Regions from separate parts of the Homo sapiens genome. Here region 1 is linked to region 2. Evidence: promoter capture Hi-C in human tissues and cell types (Jung and others, 2019). All regions are on one chromosome and are shown on one strand. The core of a region is centred on a gene start or on the middle of the fragment in contact, and the rest is flanking DNA. Distances in the headings are between cores, read along the strand shown.

Region 1 (5,460 bases), core at 170-2,669, 340 kb after region 2:
AAAAAAAAAATTGAAGGAATGCAATAGTCATGAACTACGCTATTGCTTTTGAAGGTCTCCTTCAAAACCCATGCTTAAGAAATTCTTAGGCTGGGCACAGTGGCTCACACCTGTAATCTTGGGAGGCTGAGGTGGGTGGATTACCTAAGGTCAGGAGTTCAAGGCCAGCCTGGCCCACATGGTGAAACCCCGTCTCTACTAAAAATACAAAAAAATTAGCCGGGCTTGGTAGCGGGCGCCTGTAATCCCAACTGCTTGGGAGGCTGAGGCAGAGGTTGCAGTGAGCTGAGATCACGCCACTGCACTCCAGACTGGGCGACAGAATGAGACTCTCTCTCAAAAAAAAAAAAAAAAAAAAAAAAAAAAAGAAAAGAAAAAGAAAAAAAGAAAGAAATTTTTCTAAAAGTTCAGGTAAGGTGGAAAGAAAGTATTTCAAATGTAGCAGTTCAAGAATGTTCTTCAAGTATATGTATGGTATTTCAGTTGAAAAATGTACTAATAGAAGAGATTCCATTGGTGAATTTTTTACTGTAGATTCATGTCAATAACATCCAAAATAAACAGATGGCAAAAGTACTGCTATACATGCCAAACTCTTAGAACACAAAGATATAAATATTTATATACATTCTTATATTTAAGAATATGGAGAGAAAGACCATAATGTTGTGCTTGGTTTGTGTGCTCCCAATTCAATATCAGCCAAAAATATGTACTTTCAACTGCAAAAAAGGTTTCAAAATAAAGTCACAAGCAAAAATGATGACCTTAACAAATCATTTATTACATGAAAAGAAAGAACAATAACAAAACAAAAAAACCCTGAACAGCAAGAGGGCTGTGATTTGAGTGAATTTAACAAATAGAAATATTCAATATTGAAAATAATAAAATTTATAGATAGCACTTGAAACAAGAAAATTAAAATGTTCAACTGTGAGTGACTTCAAAGATTGACATAGGTTGAACAAAACAAGAAAACTTTGCTTTTAGCCTGTGATTTTTTGATGTAATAAGACATATGTGTATATTGGTCTTGTTCTCCGCTCCTGGCCAGAGCTCCTAAACATTGGTTATTTCCTGAGTGATAGGGATGCTAGGTGCATCTTTTGTTCTCATTTTTTTGCCTTTTACCCAATTCGTGATACGGAGCTCCTAAATACCTTGGAATTTTCAGGGTGATGAGAGCCACTTTTGGTGGGCTCCTGCATGGGGACTAGTCACCAGAAAGACCAAGCCATAATTAGAAGCCTGGAACTTTCAACCCCAACCCCCTACTCTGAAGAGGTAAGAGGAGTTGAAGATTTAGTTAATAATTGATCATGTCTACATGATGAAGCCCCTTCAAAATCCCCAAATGACAGGGTTTGAGGAATTCTTAGGGTGGTGAACACATCCATATGCCAGAAGGTGGCATACCCCTACTCCATGGCAATAGAAGCTGCTGTGCTTGGGACCCTGCAGACCTTGCCCCAAGAACCTTCATCTGGCTGTTTATCTGTATTCTTTATCATATCCATTATTATATAATAAGCCAGGAAACACAAGTGTTTCTCTGTGTTCTGTGAGTTGCTCTAGCAAACTATCGAGCCCAAGGAGGTCTCAGAACTTCCAGTTTGTAGCCAAGTTGTACAGGAGTTGTGGGTAATCAGGAAACCTACTACTTATCATTGGCATCTGCAGTAGGGGTAGAGTCTTGTGGGAGGTCCTTAACCTGTGAGTTCTGCACTAACTTGAGATAGTGTCAGAATGGGAATTGAATTGTTAAACACCCAGCTGGTGTTGGATAATAGATCAAGTGGGAAAAACACCATAGATCTGGTGTCAGAAGTGAGATATTGAGAATGGCGTGAGTATAAAAGGAAAAACTGTTTTCTCATGCATGGCCAGATCCATTACTTATATATGGCTTATAATTGAAGCCATTTATTCTTTCTAGTGGACTATCTTTCTGATTTATTAATATAGTAGTGTAAAGGAAATATGAGAGACATTTGCTTTTCTATTCTTTTATGTACTAGTTGACAAAGAATGCCAAATGTTCTGGAACAAGGGAAACAAGGGAATGCATCCAACAGTTTATAACAAGACATTTGTGTTCTTCTGTTTTACCAAGATCAATACATTTGTAATGGTACTTTTTTATTCTTTATTGATTAAACAATCTTAGAAAATTATCATGTATAACAAATGCTGCTTTATTCATTTTACTTCAGTTTTTAAAACTAGGTAATTATATAAAGTAAAACATCTAATGAAAATTTTTAGAGTTTACTGAAAACAAAACTCATTTCAAATATGTTCTTAAGTTTGGCATGTTCTAATTTCAACCCTACATTTTAATACGATATTGTGTTATCTTAAAATGAATTGAAGACTCTGGGTCATGGGACATGTAGTTTCTGATCAGATGGCAAAATAACATGATCTCTGCTCTGAGGATGACCTGGAGCCAAGAGGAGTGATGTCATATATCAGAACCGACATTGTGAGAACAGCCTGAGGAGGTGGAGGTGATGGTTGTGGGGAGAAGGTAAATGATAGATGTGGGGAGAGGGTAAATGATGGAGGTTGATACTGAAGGTAGCTTGGAATGGAAGCAGCCTGGGAGGTGTTCTTGTTGTGCCCCATCTTTCCCTGAGTGAGACATTGCCTTTCCCACAGCCACTGTGACGAGGACAGTGGCAGGGCCAGCTCTTAACTGGAGACTGCAGGATACTATGAAGCTTGTGGTCTGGGCATGAGTAGGGGTGGATAAAAGCAGGTGCAGCCTTGAGCTGGAGCCTGGATGCTGCCTCCTTTCTCCATTGTCCACTTCAAGAACTGGGTTATCACTGAGGCAGCTGTTGGAAAAGAAGAGAGCCTGCGCAGGAAATATAGGTTCCTTGAGGGGTGACATCACTTGAGGGTGTGCATTAGAAGGGAGTGGATAAAGTATATAATAAGGAAAACTTAGTATAATCACTTAGAGAAGTGTTTCAATAGCAACACTGGATGCAAAGTATTGAAGAAAGGGAACTTCAAAAAATTAAATGTGAGTAAGAAATAACGATATTCTTAGTCATGCAAAGCCTCAAAAACATCCACTTTGAGAACTGTTTAAAGAAATACATAGTCTGACAAGAAGGAAAGTAAACTCAATACTTCAGTAGATATAGGAAATAAGTAAAATATATTGTCTACAAAACAGCATCATGTACACATATATTTATTTATATCGGAAAGAATAAAAATTAACTACAAATTCAGAACCTAAGCTGAAGATGGTATCACACACACATGATATTACACACATACCTATGTATGATGCCCACGAATACCTTCCAGTGTCCAAAGCTTCATGCAGTCTTTTCTATTGAATCAGTGCTGGCCCTGTGTAAGCAGTAGAGTGTGGCAGAAGAGACACTGTGTGACTTTTGGGGCTGGGATCTTGGAATGCTTACTGTGGTGAAAACAAGCAGCCATGTAAGAATTTTGAATATCCTGAGACTGTTATGCTGAAACTGTCCAAACTAGCAACGTGGACAGGCCACGTGGAAGCCAGTCCCCAGATATTTCAGTCATCTCAGCTGAGGCCACCAGACATGTGGCTAAGGGAACTGTCGTGGATGCTCTGTTGCATTGAGCCTTCTGATGACTTCAGCCCCAGCCATCATCTGGCTGCAACTGAATTAAAGACCCAAGTGAGAACTGCTTATCTAAATCTGGCCATAATGTAGAATCATAAGAGATAATAATAAGGTTTTATCCTAGGCTGCTATATTTTGGGGTGCTTTGTTACAAAGCAGTAGATAACTGAAACAATGGAGTGATTGTAAGGGTAACCCTGACTTCCCACCCCTCTCTGTGTCTGTGGCTTTTGCAATGTGACTTTGCAGTTCCTCTAATCAAGAAGTAGGGTCTACTTTCTCACCCTTTGAATCTGGGTTGGCTTTGTGACTTGCTTTGACCATTAGAATGTGGCAAAAAGTGATGGTATGCCAGTTCTAAGCCAAAGCTTCAGGGGGCCTGAATACCTCTGCACCCTCTCTACCACCACAAAAACAAGTCCACTGTAGTGTATTGGAAGACTATAGATCATGTCAGGCAGAGCTGAGTCAGCCCAGTTGTCCCAGGTAGGCTCCAAACATGTAAAGGAGGCAGTCAAGATATTGGAAGACTTCTAGCTGACCTGTAGCTAATCTCAGATGAATGAGTGTGCCTTACCCATCCCAGGTCAGATCAGTAGATCTGCTCAGCTAACTTCATAGACTTGTGAGCAAAACTGAATGTTTATTTTTGTATGGCACTGAGATTTTTTGTGTGTTTATTACTTAGATTGTTGTGGTAGCAGATAAATAACATATAAGGAAAAAAAAACCATTACAAATTTAGAACTAGGCCGGGTGCTGTGGCTCATGTCTGTAATCCCAGCACTTTGGGAGGCCAAGGTGGATGGATCGATCACCTGTGATCAGGAGTTGGATACCAGCCTGGCCAACATGGTAAAACCCCATCTCTACTAAAAATATAGAAATTAGCTGGGAATAGGTGCCTGTAATCCCAGCTACTTGGGAGGCTGAGGTGGGAGAATCACTTGAATCCAGGAGGCAGAGGTTGCAGGGAGCTGAGATTGTGCCACTGCACTCCAGCCTGGACAACAAAGTGAAACTCCATCTCAGAAAAAAAAAAAAAAAAAAAATAGAACTAAAGCTATTGATGATAGTAATATATTTACAAGATAGTAATAAAGATATCAGAAGGATATGAGAACATGCTAAGATACTTGTTAGGATGCTGATTAGACAAGTCTTCGACAAGACTTACCAAAAATAAAAGAGAACATGTAAATAAACAAAATATACTATGAAAAGAATAATTATAAATAGAAGAGATTTTAAAAGAATAAAATTATAAGCAAATATCACTTGTATTTAAACACAGAAATCCCAAATGGATGAATATTCATTAAAGGAATTGAGATGAAAACTATCTTTCTGACCAAGTAAAGACTTTGGTTGCATAACAGAGTCCACTCAAGCTAGTTTAAATAAAAAGGGATTTTTAAGGGCTATAGGTTGCTCAGTTATTGGGAAGGTTGCTGAAACAGCTTCAAAGTTGAACTTTCAGGAAAAACTTCCTAGAACCATATGACAGAGCTGAGTTAGCTAGGAACTGGCTTCTACTACAGTCAGAAAATGATGAAATCAAAGAGACACCAGTACAGCTGTTAACTCCAGAATGTGTAACTTTCTTTTCTTTTCTTTTTCTTTTTTTTTTTTCTTTTTGAGACAAAGTCTCACTCTGTCACTCAGGCTGGAGTGCAGTGGGGCAATCAAGCAATCCACCTGCCTCAGTATCTGAAAGTGGTGGGATTACAGGCGTGAGCCCCCACGCTTGACCCGCAATGTGTAACTTTCAAACCATCAGAAAAATATATTGATTTATTCAATGAAAATTAGCAATGGAGTATAAAACCTC
Region 2 (5,895 bases), core at 3,028-5,527:
ATCCTTTCCTACCATCTTATTTACAGATGGTAAAAGCAAAAAGGCCTCTCTAGCTGAGACGATTGAAACCTGGAGCTGTCTCTAGTCATGCTCTCCCCACCCCCAGCTTGTACAGAAAGCTCATATGGAATAGGAGAGAATAGGATCAAAACACTGAGAAAAGCAGAGACAGGGAAATAGTAGGAGCAAAGGTGAAAGTGTGAGAGTGACAAAAATTCCTTGCTTGGCCAAACAAACATTAGTCATGCTTCTGAGCCTTCTCCTGGGCCCATATGTGCGTTTTCTTGTAAAACTCAGTTTTAGAAAAGAGTTCTGCCAAGTCAGTTTAGCAAGAACCCCCACTCTCCATATCTGATCATTCTCAATATCTGATCAGATCCCTCATCCTCCACTATTGCCCAGGTCATGTCTGATCTCCCTGGCCTGTGTTCAGCAAGAATCCAGTTATGTCGGGTTAGCTAGAGTTCCTCATATTCCTGATGTTTCCTCTTAGTGATTTTTCATCCAGCAACCCCATCTGTTCTTTGTCTATAAATTCCAAGCTGCCTATGCTGTATTCTGCATGAGCTCCTTGCAGTAGTCCCTGTGCCGATTTCGATCGTGCTGGATAAAGCCTTCCTTACCATGCTTTAACACTGACTAATTTTTTCTTTAACAAGAGAAATGCTGATTCTGAATTGCTAGACTCCCACCGTTTCTGAAGTCCTTATCCTTCCCCCTATCTTAAAGTGGGAGTCAATACATCAGCTTTTTTTACTCAAGCTGGTTTGATAAGGGGTTTTGTTATTTGTACCTAAAAGCCGTGACCAATTTGTAGAGTAGGGCCATAAAGACAGGTACTACGCTCTACTTCAGGAGTGCTATCTATATTCCAGCTAAGGCTTACCACCTAGAGCAGTGCCTGGTACATGGCAAGTACTAAAGAAATATGTGTTGAAAGAGGAGTGCCTCTTCCTTGATACGCTTTTTTGGTCAATGGTTTTCTTAACTTGGTGCATTGATTAAAATAGGGAACATTTATCTCCTTTCCTCTCTTGCTCGTGGATATAACTCAAGATGGTTGCTGTTTAAATTTGAACACCTTAAATAAATGGCTCTTTTTGCAACTGGAAGCACAATTTTTGCACAGCTAGAAAAATCTTTTTCCAACACAGAAATTCCCAGTGCAGTTTTCTAAGAAACCCCCTACGATACGCAGCACAGCAGGCTCACCACAAGGCACATCAATCATTTTACTGTGTATCAGGCACCTCTTACAGGATTTTCTGTGATCCTGGTGTCAGTGCACATTCTGTATCAAGGCAGAGATGATATGTAGAAATCTGGCAGCTATTTAGAAGGGAGGCTGGGCAGTGGTGTGCCAGTATAATTAATGAGAGTCATCGCTTAGGAAATGAAGAGGGTGGGGGTTGGGAAGGATGCCTTTCACCATTCAATGGCATTTAAGAAAAATTGATGCTTTCTTAGCACTTTTAATGCTGGGAGGACATTAAGTCAAAGAATCACAGCAAAAGATTTTTGTAACTACTGTACAGATGGATGTCCCTGTGCTTGAAGAGGCAGGGCTAATTCAACCCCAGACTTTTCAGCCAGGCGGATTTCAACCTTGTATTGAGCTACCAGCAGGAGTTCTTTATACTTGGAAAAGTGGTAAATCCTTACTAAAAGATCATAGCTTGCATGACCAAGAGATCCTCTAGAAAAGGTACTTTACTACCATGTAGGATGTTTGTCTTACCTGCCCAAAGAAGTTTTAATGAAGATCTCATTTTCTCCAGTTCCCCTTTAACCAGTGAAAGAGGAGGGTATTATTTGTTTTGTTTTTCTATTTATTCTTTGGTAACCATGGAAGAGTTTGTGTAACCTAGAGAGGCTGCTTATTACCCACTGTCTAATCCCTTTGTTATTATTCCATACTCTGATTGTCACAAGCAGGAAAAATAGTTCTGTCCTGCTTCTAAAAACTTAGCAATGTAACACATTTTCTTGTTTTTAGTGATTTTCTCCAATTAATTAATTAATTGTTTTAGTGATTTTTCTCAGATAAATAATGTTAAAACGACTTGGAGAGAAAAGCTACATTAAAAGATTATGGATGTATAAATGTCCTAAACATTTAAGAACATGCATAATTATGATTCATACCAACTTCAGAATTATTACCTTTGGGAAGGGGTGGGGGTAACGAGTCAGGAGTTGGGGTTTAGCTATATCTGTAATGCTTTATTTAAAAAAGAAGGGCTGGGGGGAGCAGGAGTATTACATGGTATATATCCTGTTTTTGGTAGGTTTGAAATATCACACAATTTAAAAATTTAAAAGTTTACAAAATTATGGGAGTTGATTAAAACTATCAAAATAAAGAATGCATAGCAAACAAGTGCTCTTATTATGAACTTTGTGTCTGAGTTTATTTCAACATGTGCATCTGCATTTTTTCAGACTCAAGAAAGACAAACACCGGAGGTTAGGGGGTGAACTGCTGCTGTTGAGGGATTATCTTGGTGGTTTTTTTTTTTTTTTTTTTTTTTTTGGCTTTTCTATTCACCATGGAGGTTACCAGCAAAACAAATCTCCAACAAGCTTGTTTACAAAATATAAAGCAGTTTGGAGGCAGAGGGTTAATGACTTAATTTCTTATAAATTGAGGCTTGTGTATGGGCATGCAAAAAAACAAAAACAAAAACAAGTAAATTTGGGGAGGTTTCTTTCTATAGAGGCAAAGGACCTTACCTACATTTTTTCCAAATTGATTTCTTCCTGGTACTATTGGCAGGAAGAAATTCAAGTGGGTATTCTGGTGGCTTTTTTCTTTTTTCTGAGAGTCTAGGATTGTTTTCAGGACAAAGTTTCTTCTTGCCCATGGTGCTTTGCTGTGACATTGTAATTGCCTCTGTTGAATTGAATAATACAAATGGGTTGTTTCTATGGTATCGGCTAAGTGGGATGAAAAGGTGAAACCCTAGATCTTGCGCTGAGAGGTCACAGTGCTACCACCCTCCACACTGTCTGTCAAAGAGAACAGGCAGCCAAGGCCCTGAGCTCCAATCTCAGGCACTCATTTGTAACTTACTCGTTTGTAACTTCCTGGGCAAATTCACGCATGAAAAAAGAAAATGACTTTAGTTTATGTTGTCACTAAGCCCAGAAAATCCCTGCCAACCCCATGCTGCCAGCTTTCCTAGGACATTCTTATTGGAGGATTATTTTAAACTGAAAGGTGAGTGAAGAGCTGCGTCCCCACTCCTTCCCAGCCAGGCTTTGAACTAACAATAGGGCAGGTTGAATGAAGGCTGATAAATGTAAATCCTGGAATCCAGAAGCCGGATCACACCGCGGCCGTCTAGGCCAGCGGCGGTTCCAGCATCCGCCCCAAGCTGGTCACTCATCCTTTCAGTGCATTCAGTAGATTTCATCGTTTCATCAACACTTGAGTGCCTGCTTCGTGCAAGCTTTCCTCTGCCACCGCCGCCTTCTTACTCCCGGCAGGTTGCCCGCTTGAGTCAACCAGCCACTAAACGGATCTAAGTGAATAAGTGGCCTGTTAATGCCAAGGAGTAGCATTTCCAAATGAAGAGACTGGGGGTAAATAAAAGCAAAGTGTTACCATTTACACGCTCTCAATTTTAGTTGCACTTCACTCAGAGTAGATCTCTTTAATTTGCGGCATCGACAGATGCTATATTCTTAGAAATTTTTTTTTTTTAAAGGAGGTAAGACGGGCGTTTGAGAACACTTTTTACTTTGGTGCAAGTTGCACGCAGTTCCCATTCACTCAGAGTAGATCTCTTTAATTTGCGGCATCGACAGATGCTATATTCTTAGAAATTTTTTTTTTTTAAAGGAGGTAAGACGGACGTTTGAGAACACTTTTCACTTTGGTGCAAGTTGCACGCAGTTCCCATTCCCTGCGCCCTTCACTTCCAACTTTGTTTCTCCAACTCCTTTACCCCCCACCACCGAGGCCCTCTGGCTACAGCCCCGAGGGGTTACCCTGGGTTTCGAAACTTTTGAAACTTGCGGGGGAGTAAAAGTACTTCATTCCCAGTGCTTCTGGCCCTTGCCAAGCGGGGAGCCCCGCAGGAGAGTGTAAGCCAAGGGTTCCAGGTGCAGCCTTGGGGTTCCACGTGCAGCCCTAGGGTTCCGTACACCCATCCCGCCCGGGCCAGAGGAGGCAGCAGGCGCTCCAGTCCGCTCTCCGCAACTCCAGTTCCTGATTTCCTCGGAAGCTGCGGGGCCGAGAGGGAGGGGGGCTCCTGTGTGAGCGTGAGGATTTGAATGAGAAAGCAGGTTGTGGCGGCGGCGCCCTGCTCTTCCCCGCTCGTCTGGGGCTTCTGCTGGCTAGTGGGGAGAAGTGCTCTTCTAGGGGGGCTTTTCTGGCCCTTGGCAGGGGTTTGGAGTTGGAGTCACAGGGGCCAATAACTCATCACCCCAGCACTTCGGAGGTGGCTCCTTGTGCCACGGACTCCGAGGAGTCCTTCAGCTACTGAACACTCAAAGCTGAGGAGGTCAGTGCTTTCGGGGGAAGAAGGGGCCCAGGAGAGAAGGGGGTGTGCAGGAAAAAGAGAACTGGTACGCCAGTCCGATGAGCGAGTGAGCAGGTGGCCCAAGTTCCTTTCTCGGCAGCCACAGCCGGCACACGCCTGTTTAGGACTGTGAGTGCTGTGCGTGGGGATCCCCTAAGGCCCCGTGCGGGGAACTGGCCACGGCCGCTCTTCAGGGTCCCATAATTCAGAAGGATGAGGGTGGGTGTGTGTGTCCGCGAAATAATGTAACTCTCGGGTCCCTTGCGGTGGTGGTGGGTGGCGTTTCGCCCGGTGGAAGGTCCAGCCTCGCTGCAGGATGCTTCACCCTCACGCGGGGTCCCGGGACCCTCTCTCTGACCGCCAGACGCCGCCAGGAGAGCAGGTCCGCGTTTCCCAGCAAGGGGAGTGCAGCGTCCGTTACACTTGGGGAGTCTCACAGCTTTTCCTGCGCCCGGTGACCCTGCTCAGGACCTCTTAGAGACTAGGTGTGCTCAGCGCGAGGAGGATATACTCCATTGCCCTTTCCTGGGAAGAACCAAGAGCGCCCGAGCGGCGCGGGGTGGTGGAGGCAAACCCCGGCCCCGCGGCGGCACGCTCTGCGCCTGCGCGGCGTTTCCTTGGCGACTGAGCTGCGGGTCCGAGACGCCACCCCGCGAGCCCCTAAACCCAGTTCCCTGTTGAGCGTCTGCGACGCCCTCTCCCCTCCTTCCCGAGGCTTTTTCTATTTGTTTCCTTCTGCGAATCAATTTGTGATCACATTTTGACGTTGAGAGTTCAGCATTAAAGCAATAACCAACTAAATTAAAAAAAAAAACCCAACTTTTCCCTTCCCTTGTTACCGTTTTGATCACGGACAGAAGAAAATGGTGAGAGATTAGTTATTAGGGCAGCAATTGAAATCCCCCTCTGTCCCGAAAAGGGGAGACGAATAAAACATTTACTTCCTGGTAAGGAGTTAGAAAATTCAGTGAAGTGATTGTTCTCGAGCGTTACAAGAACAAATCTGTGCCTCCTAACCCAGGTGAAGAGCAGAGCTTGTACAACCCAGCAGCACCCATGTCCTGTTTATTGGCATGTTTATGACAAGGAGATGCTCTGCAAAAGGGACCAGAGTATAATGCCAATGAAAAGAAACAAAGGATTTCCCAGAAGAGGCGGTAGTTTTTTTCAGTTGCCTCAGCGTTTTGGTCACCTTTGGGGTTAAAGTCTTCTGCAGAGAATGCTTCAAGAAGCCTTAACAGAAGCCAGTTTTCTCAAGCTGGTCATTTTCTTTTTCTTTTTTTCTTTTTTGAGACGGAGTCTGGCTCTGTCGCCCAGGCTGGAGTGCAGTGGTGCGATCTCGGCTCACTGCAACCTCCGCCTCCTGGGT

The links. Contacts are between HindIII fragments. The study calls those that stand out against the background at their distance.
Region 1: a fragment that was not itself captured here is called in contact with the fragment with the promoter of PLCH1 in region 2 in 1 of the 25 tissues and cell types used here (H1 embryonic stem cells).

What each region holds. Positions count from the first base shown.
Region 1 is chr3:155,397,945-155,403,404 of GRCh38, reverse strand. It overlaps the pseudogene DTWD1P2. Among named protein-coding and RNA genes, the nearest start is that of PLCH1-AS1, 49 kb to the left of the region's middle. The HindIII fragment of the contact is 4,496 bases long and covers 1-3,667 here.
Region 2 is chr3:155,743,453-155,749,347 of GRCh38, reverse strand. PLCH1 (phospholipase C eta 1) reads left to right here and starts at 4,277. Exons shown (of 23, transcript NM_014996.4): 1 at 4,277-4,508. RefSeq lists enhancers at 4,315-4,524, 4,419-5,040. The HindIII fragment of the contact is 7,162 bases long and covers 3,019-5,895 here.